2 separate regions of the Homo sapiens genome follow, and region 2 is linked to region 1. The links are contacts of gene promoters, found by promoter capture Hi-C in human tissues and cell types (Jung and others, 2019). All regions are on one chromosome and are shown on one strand. Each heading gives the region's core, a stretch centred on a gene start or on the middle of the fragment in contact. The rest is flanking DNA. Distances are from core to core; before and after follow the strand shown.

Region 1 (3,175 bases), core at 241-2,740:
GCAACTTTATAAGAAACTGTCAAACTGTTTTCTAGAGTGGTTATGCCATTTTATAGTCCTACCAGCAATGTTTGAGAGATCCGGTTGCTCTGCATCCTCACTAGCATTTAGTGCTGTCAGTACTTGTTATTTTAGCCATTTAAATAGGTGTGTAGTAGAATCTCATTGTGGTTTTAATATACATTTCCCTAATGGCCAATGACACTGAACACTGTTTTACATGTTTATTTGCCATCTGTATATCTTCTTTGGTGAAATGACTATTCAAGTCTTTGATCCATTTTCTAACTGGACTGTTTACTTACTCTGAGTTTATATGGTTCTTTATATATTCTGGATATGAGTCCTTTGTTGGATACATGCTTTGCAAATATTTTCTCCTAGTCCATGGCCTGTCTTTAAACCTTAGTGTTAATTGCCATGAAGGCACTGTCAACAAAGTCTACACTTCAGGAAAGGTGCAGAATGGAGTTCTCTGGATATAGTCAAATCACCTGAAGAGCTTTACCCTCAGAACAGGCGAACTAGAAAAAATTCTACAAGCCAAAGAAATAAATAGCAAGCTGAAAGATAGATCTGAAGAAATTAGCCAGAATGTGGCTCAGAGAAACAAAATGATGCAATATTTTAAAAATAATAATTTAGAACCTCAGAAGGTTTAACCTATGCCTAATAGGAATTCCAGGAGGAGAGTCTAGAGTAATGTTGTCCAATACAGTAGTAGCCAATAGCCACATGTCACTACTTAAAATGTAAATTAATTAAAACTAAATGAAGTTAAAAATGCAGTTCCTTGGTTGTACTGGCCACATTTCAGATGCTCAATAGCCACATGTGGCTGGTGGCTACCATATTGGACAGTGCAGATATAGAATACTACAGGAAATCCTACTGGACAGTGCTGATCTAGGTCATAAAACAAGTCTGAACAAATTTCAAAGAACTGGTATGATACAGATGTTTTGTGGAAATAAACTAGACATTAGAAATTAAAAACAAAATAACTCCTACTGCCTCCTCTCACCTTTTTCCCCATTACAATTCCACCTCTTAATGTCTTCATGTTCTTGATGAGAAGCAGAACGTCCCTACTGTGTTCCATGGCACCAAGTTCCCCAGAACCCGCCAGTCTCTGATGACAGAACATCCTGGACCGCCCAGCTCCACACCCCAACCCAAGAAGTTCTCTAAAACACTGACCATGACAGCCTGGGGTAGGTTTCCACTTTAACATTCTGACCAAAATTCTCAACTCGATGCAGTCAGAGTCTGCGCAACCTGGGACCTCGAGCCAAGAAATCCTCAAGTGACCTTACTTGGCAAAACCAACAAAACAACCAAATACAGGTCTCAAGCGATTTACAGCTCGGTGCTTAACTCGGTCACCGGCCGAGGGGCAGCCCTCTGGCGCCAAAGCCCCGCCTCTCTATGACGTCACACGAGGAGCCCTGAAGTGGCGGTCAAGCTTGAGGCGTCATCTGGCTGCGCCTAGTGGGCCGTTGCCTTACAGTTGCTGAGAGGAGGCGAGAGGCGGGGGCGCTAGGGCCGAGATCATGTCTGACTGGGAGAGGTTTCCTTGGCAGCAGAGGACGCTAGGTTTGGGATGAAAGAAGCTGGGCAGATGCAAAATCTGGAGAGCGCGAGGGCCGGGCGGTCAGTCAGCACCCAGACTGGCAGCATGACCGGTGAGTGTCCGGGACCCTGCTCCCGCCACCCTACCTTTCGCTCTGCCCTGTGCGTCTCCCGTCATTGAACTCCAGATTCCTTGTCTGAGCCTCTTTGCCTCCCCTGCTGCTTTTGGATGTCTCCTGCCCGCCCTCTGCGTGTCCCCTCCGCGGTCGCCAGGACCAATCGGCTCGGTCGCACTGGCTTTTGAAGTCTCGCTTTTTACCCCTGTTAGCTACTTCTCACAGGACCTAGAGCTGGGGCCTCTGAGGTCAAAGAGCCTGAACATTTCCAAACGGCGCTTTTGCCTTGATTTCCAAATTAACCGCACGTGACGCTTTCCTGTATTTCGACTGCTTTACCGTCGAAGGTCAGCGCATTTTTCGGGTTGTGTTCTAATCGCTTTCCTTTTAGCAACGCCCCATCACAGTCCAAAGAAAAGCTTGCACCACGACGACGTCAGATGCGAAGACTTTTCACAGCTTGCTTTGGGTTGTCCCCCTCAGCTATGTGTATTAGCTGTACCGTTTTTTCCTGCAGGGTGAGGGCTGGAGAAAGAAGGCTCAACTTTTTAAGTGGAGAAGGAGGTAGCCACGACTAAGGCTGAAGCGTCTACTGCTAAGATACCTCTGACTCTCTTGTCCCCTATCTTTTTCTGTGCCTCTTGCGAAAGCAGCTGGGCTTAGGCTGCAGCACCTAAGTGGCATTGAGATTGGCTCCCTTTTTCACCATTAGTAACAAAGTTTAAAGTGTTTGTCGTCTCTTTTGTAGGTCAGATACCAAGGCTTTCTAAAGTCAACCTTTTCACTCTGCTCAGCCTCTGGATGGAGCTCTTTCCAGCAGAAGCCCAGCGGCAAAAATCTCAGGTATAATTTGTTTCATAGTTTTTCCCCTTAGAAAAGCAGTGGTTTAAAATCTGAGTTTATTGCTCCAGTTTCTGTCATACCTAAAACCAAACTTAACAAGGCTTAAGATTTAAAAAATATCTTTATTGATTAACATGACACTTTATAATTCCCAGCCGTAATAAGTCATCTTCCATTCTAAAAATACTTTCTGAGAATACCATGTTTATCGGGTACTAATGGTATTCATATGTCAGTTCGGCTAATAAGATTATTGTCTATACCACATAATTTCCCCCAATTATATATACTGTTGGTGTTTTATCTAGGTAGTTTACTCCTCTGCCACAGAAATATATAAATTGCCTGGAGATAGAGACCATGTCTTATTTTACCTAGCATATACCCTTTAGAGTCTAGCATTATATGAGTGCTAATTGATTAATGTTGGATGGAAGTAGTCTCTTTTTGGATCTTGAAAGACAGGATCAAAACAGATTAGAAATGGGCTGTGTGCAGTGGCTCACGCCTGTAATCCTAGCACTTTGTGAGGCTGAGGTGGGTGGATCACCTGAGGTCAGGAGTTCAAAACCAGCCTGGGCAACATAGTGAAACCCCATCTCTATTAAACATACAAAAATTAGCCAGGAGTGGTGGTATCCGCC
Region 2 (3,175 bases), core at 264-2,763, 110 kb before region 1:
TAGAGACAGGGTTTCACCATCTTGGCCAGGCTGGTCTCCAACTCCTAGGCTCAAGCAGTCCACCCACCTTGACCTTCCAGTGTGCTAAGATTACAGGCATGAGCCTACTATATGGACTTTGAGCACTATTATTTGTATATACTTGAATCAATCTCTATAAGGTAAAATATAGCTGGGTTAACAGCCTGTCTTTCATATGCCTACAGTTGTGGAGTTAGTACCCAGTACTTTTGATTGTAATGTTAAGCTTGTAACTACTGCTTACTTTGATTAATGTAGTTTCTATATGTATGTTCTTTTAGGTTTCCTTAATACTGACTATTATCTGTTTGACGTAGATATGCGTATGTAGAAATACATAGATATGCATGGTAGACCATGTCAGGTTCTAAAGGTTTCATCAGAAATGACTATGAACCATACCAACATGTCATTTCACAAGCACCAATAACCACAACTCTATCAGTCCTTGAATATGCTTATCTAAATTGATATTTACTATCAAATAGTGTAGGTAATTAATATATGACTAGGAACTAAAATGCTTCCAACTTTGAGGGAAATATCAAAATGTAAGCCATGTGAACTCTTCCTACCTTCCTTTTCCTTAAAATTTCCATGCCTCACTAACAAATTTCAAATAATGTCTTAACTGTTCATGACTTATATATTAACAACATTTACATAAATGTTCTCCCATTTATTTGAGACCTGATCATCGTTTTCAGCACTGATGTTTCAGAAGAAATTAAGTTAAAGTTTTTTGCCTATCAGTGGTGGCTATAAGTTACAGTCAAGCCAATTATATTTCTAATTTGGGAAACCATAACTAAGGCATGTCATGAAAAAATAGTTAACTTTATTAAGAGGTATGAGATTGACAAATGAGAACTTTCCAGAGAGAATATTCTTACAACCATGAATAAAAATATACTTGATATAAGAAAAATTTGGTTCAGATAGATATAGCTATGTCTAAATATATATAGATATATCTGTATATAGTGGTGTTATAATTAGTAGTCACAGTTAAGATAGAAATAAAAACTAAAGTAGATAAATGCTGAAGGGCCACAAACTGCTGAGTATGAACAAAGGAATAAAAACTAGAAAATAAAAGTCTCAAATACCAACCTAGTTTCAGAATACATATTTAGGGAGAAGAAGGGATTGTATCTAAGTTCTTTTTTTTAAATATTCAAATGTTTTATTTTTTTAAGAAAAAGATGAAGAAACTAAAGCATTTGAAGCACTTCTTTCCAACATTGTCAAACCAGTGGTAAGTATCTTATGTATTTTATTGATGTTTATATTTAATATATTAGCATAAGATGTTCATCCATCAAAATGTAGTTTTTTTCTTTTAACTTTTTATGAAAATAGGATCATACTGTATTCTGTGACAAGCTTTTTCACTCACTATGGTATGCTTTAGCTATCTTTCTATGTCATTACCTGATTCTTTGAAGAGCTACATAGTTTTGTCATTCATTCATCAAATATTTATTGATCCCTTACTATATGCCAATAAATAAAAAACAAATGCACAAACAGAATTCTGTGTGATAGTAAAGATTGCTATTATAGAAATAGGAATGATATGATGAGATTAATAGGAGAGGTTGTTAGGTTAAATAGAGCAATCAGGGAAGCTTTCTCTGACAAGTGAGAAAAAGTGCAAAAGTGGAAGGAATGGGAGAGGGAGAACAGGTGTAAGTAAGCATGGGGAGTTGGACAGAGGGAAAGAACCATTATCACTGGAGTATAGTGAAGGGGAGAAAGATGTGGTGGAAGAAGTAGGCCATAGGACTTTTTCAGCCAGAATAAGGCAATTTAAGATTGATAAGAATATTTTTTGGTTCATAAAACAAACTACTCTTTCCCAACTCTCAGAAACATCCATGGTAAAATGTTTTATACTAAGTTGCCCCAAAAATACTTTGTTTTTCTGAGAAAACAGATTAGAAAAGTTATTATTCTTAGTACCATCTCCATAAAGGCTTTTTAAGCTTATCTTGCCATGTTTTAGGATGTTTGAGTAAGCCAGTTCCTCATCTAATAGACTAATATGGTCCTACTTTTTCTGACAACTCCCAAATAATAGATTTGGTTGCTCTAGCTTTCTTTATTCTAATCTGTTTTCTCTTGAGAATAGAGCATATATGTGTAAATAAATGTAAATTTACACAATTATTTCATAGTAATGGTTAACACAAATTGATTAGCATCAGTCTCTGTTCAGAGTGCTTGGAATGCACATGTGCATTATTTAATACCTGTGACAACCATATATGTACTATTTTCCCTGCTTTACAAATGAGGAAACTGAAGCAACAGTGAGTTTCAATTAGTAGTAGTAGAGCTATGACTGAAATTTAGGCAGTATCCTTCCAAGACCCCAAGTGTATATCACTAGGTTTACTAGAAAAAGAATTTAGTAGGCTTAATAAGATTGATGTTTGAGTGATTTAATAGCTAATGCTAGTAGCATTTACTTGTTGTAGTATATATTAAAAGTATAATTTTCAGGCCAGGTGCAGTGGCTCACACTTTCCCAGTCCTTTGGAAAACCAAGACAAGAAGATCACTTGAGGCCAGGAGTTTGAGACCAGCCTGAGTAATATATTGAGACCTCGTCTCTACAAAAAACAAATACAGATACTACAGACCAAGGGGGCACACACCTGTAGTCCCAGATACTTGGGATGCTGAGGTGGGAGGATCCCTTGAGCCTAGGAGTTCAATGCTGCAGTGAACTAAGATTGTGCCTTTTCACTCCAGCCTGGGTGACAGAGCAAGAACCTGTCTCATAAATAAATAAATATATATATAATTTACAGACAGGAAAAGTAAATCTTAAAGCCAATTCAAAGACTTTCTTACTCAACATTAGGAAGAACATGTAGTTTAATAAGATAGTGAGCCCTGTATCATAAAGTAATGCTGATGGTTTTATTTGCTTTGTTTTAGTTTATAGTTTGAATGCCGATTCCTCTTTGATTAAATTAATTGTGAGCTACAAAGTGCAGGTCAGGGTTTTTGCTTGCTTGTTTTTGTGTGTGTGGTTGTTTTTGCATGCTCTAGTTCATTTAGAGCACTAAATTAAATGTGTTCATTCACTTTTTCATTCCATAAATATTTTACCGCTTACAAAGTGACAGATGTTGTGCTAAAG

The links. Contacts are between HindIII fragments. The study calls those that stand out against the background at their distance.
Region 2: a fragment that was not itself captured here is called in contact with the fragment with the promoter of CDADC1 in region 1 in 3 of the 25 tissues and cell types used here (hippocampus, mesendoderm cells and spleen).

What each region holds. Positions count from the first base shown.
Region 1 is chr13:49,246,435-49,249,609 of GRCh38, forward strand. It overlaps CDADC1 (cytidine and dCMP deaminase domain containing 1), which reads left to right and starts at 1,491. Exons shown (of 10, transcript NM_030911.4): 1 at 1,491-1,685; 2 at 2,437-2,531. The coding sequence starts at 1,604. It overlaps LOC105370203 (a long non-coding RNA gene), which reads right to left and starts at 1,406. Exons shown (of 2, transcript NR_135318.1): 1 at 1,201-1,406. RefSeq lists enhancers at 1,352-1,914, 1,384-1,613. The HindIII fragment of the contact is 6,098 bases long and covers 1-2,797 here.
Region 2 is chr13:49,137,527-49,140,701 of GRCh38, forward strand. It overlaps FNDC3A (fibronectin type III domain containing 3A), which reads left to right. Exons shown (of 26, transcript NM_001079673.2): 7 at 1,221-1,279. Among named protein-coding and RNA genes, the nearest start is that of MLNR, 81 kb to the right of the region's middle. The HindIII fragment of the contact is 4,145 bases long and covers 1-3,175 here.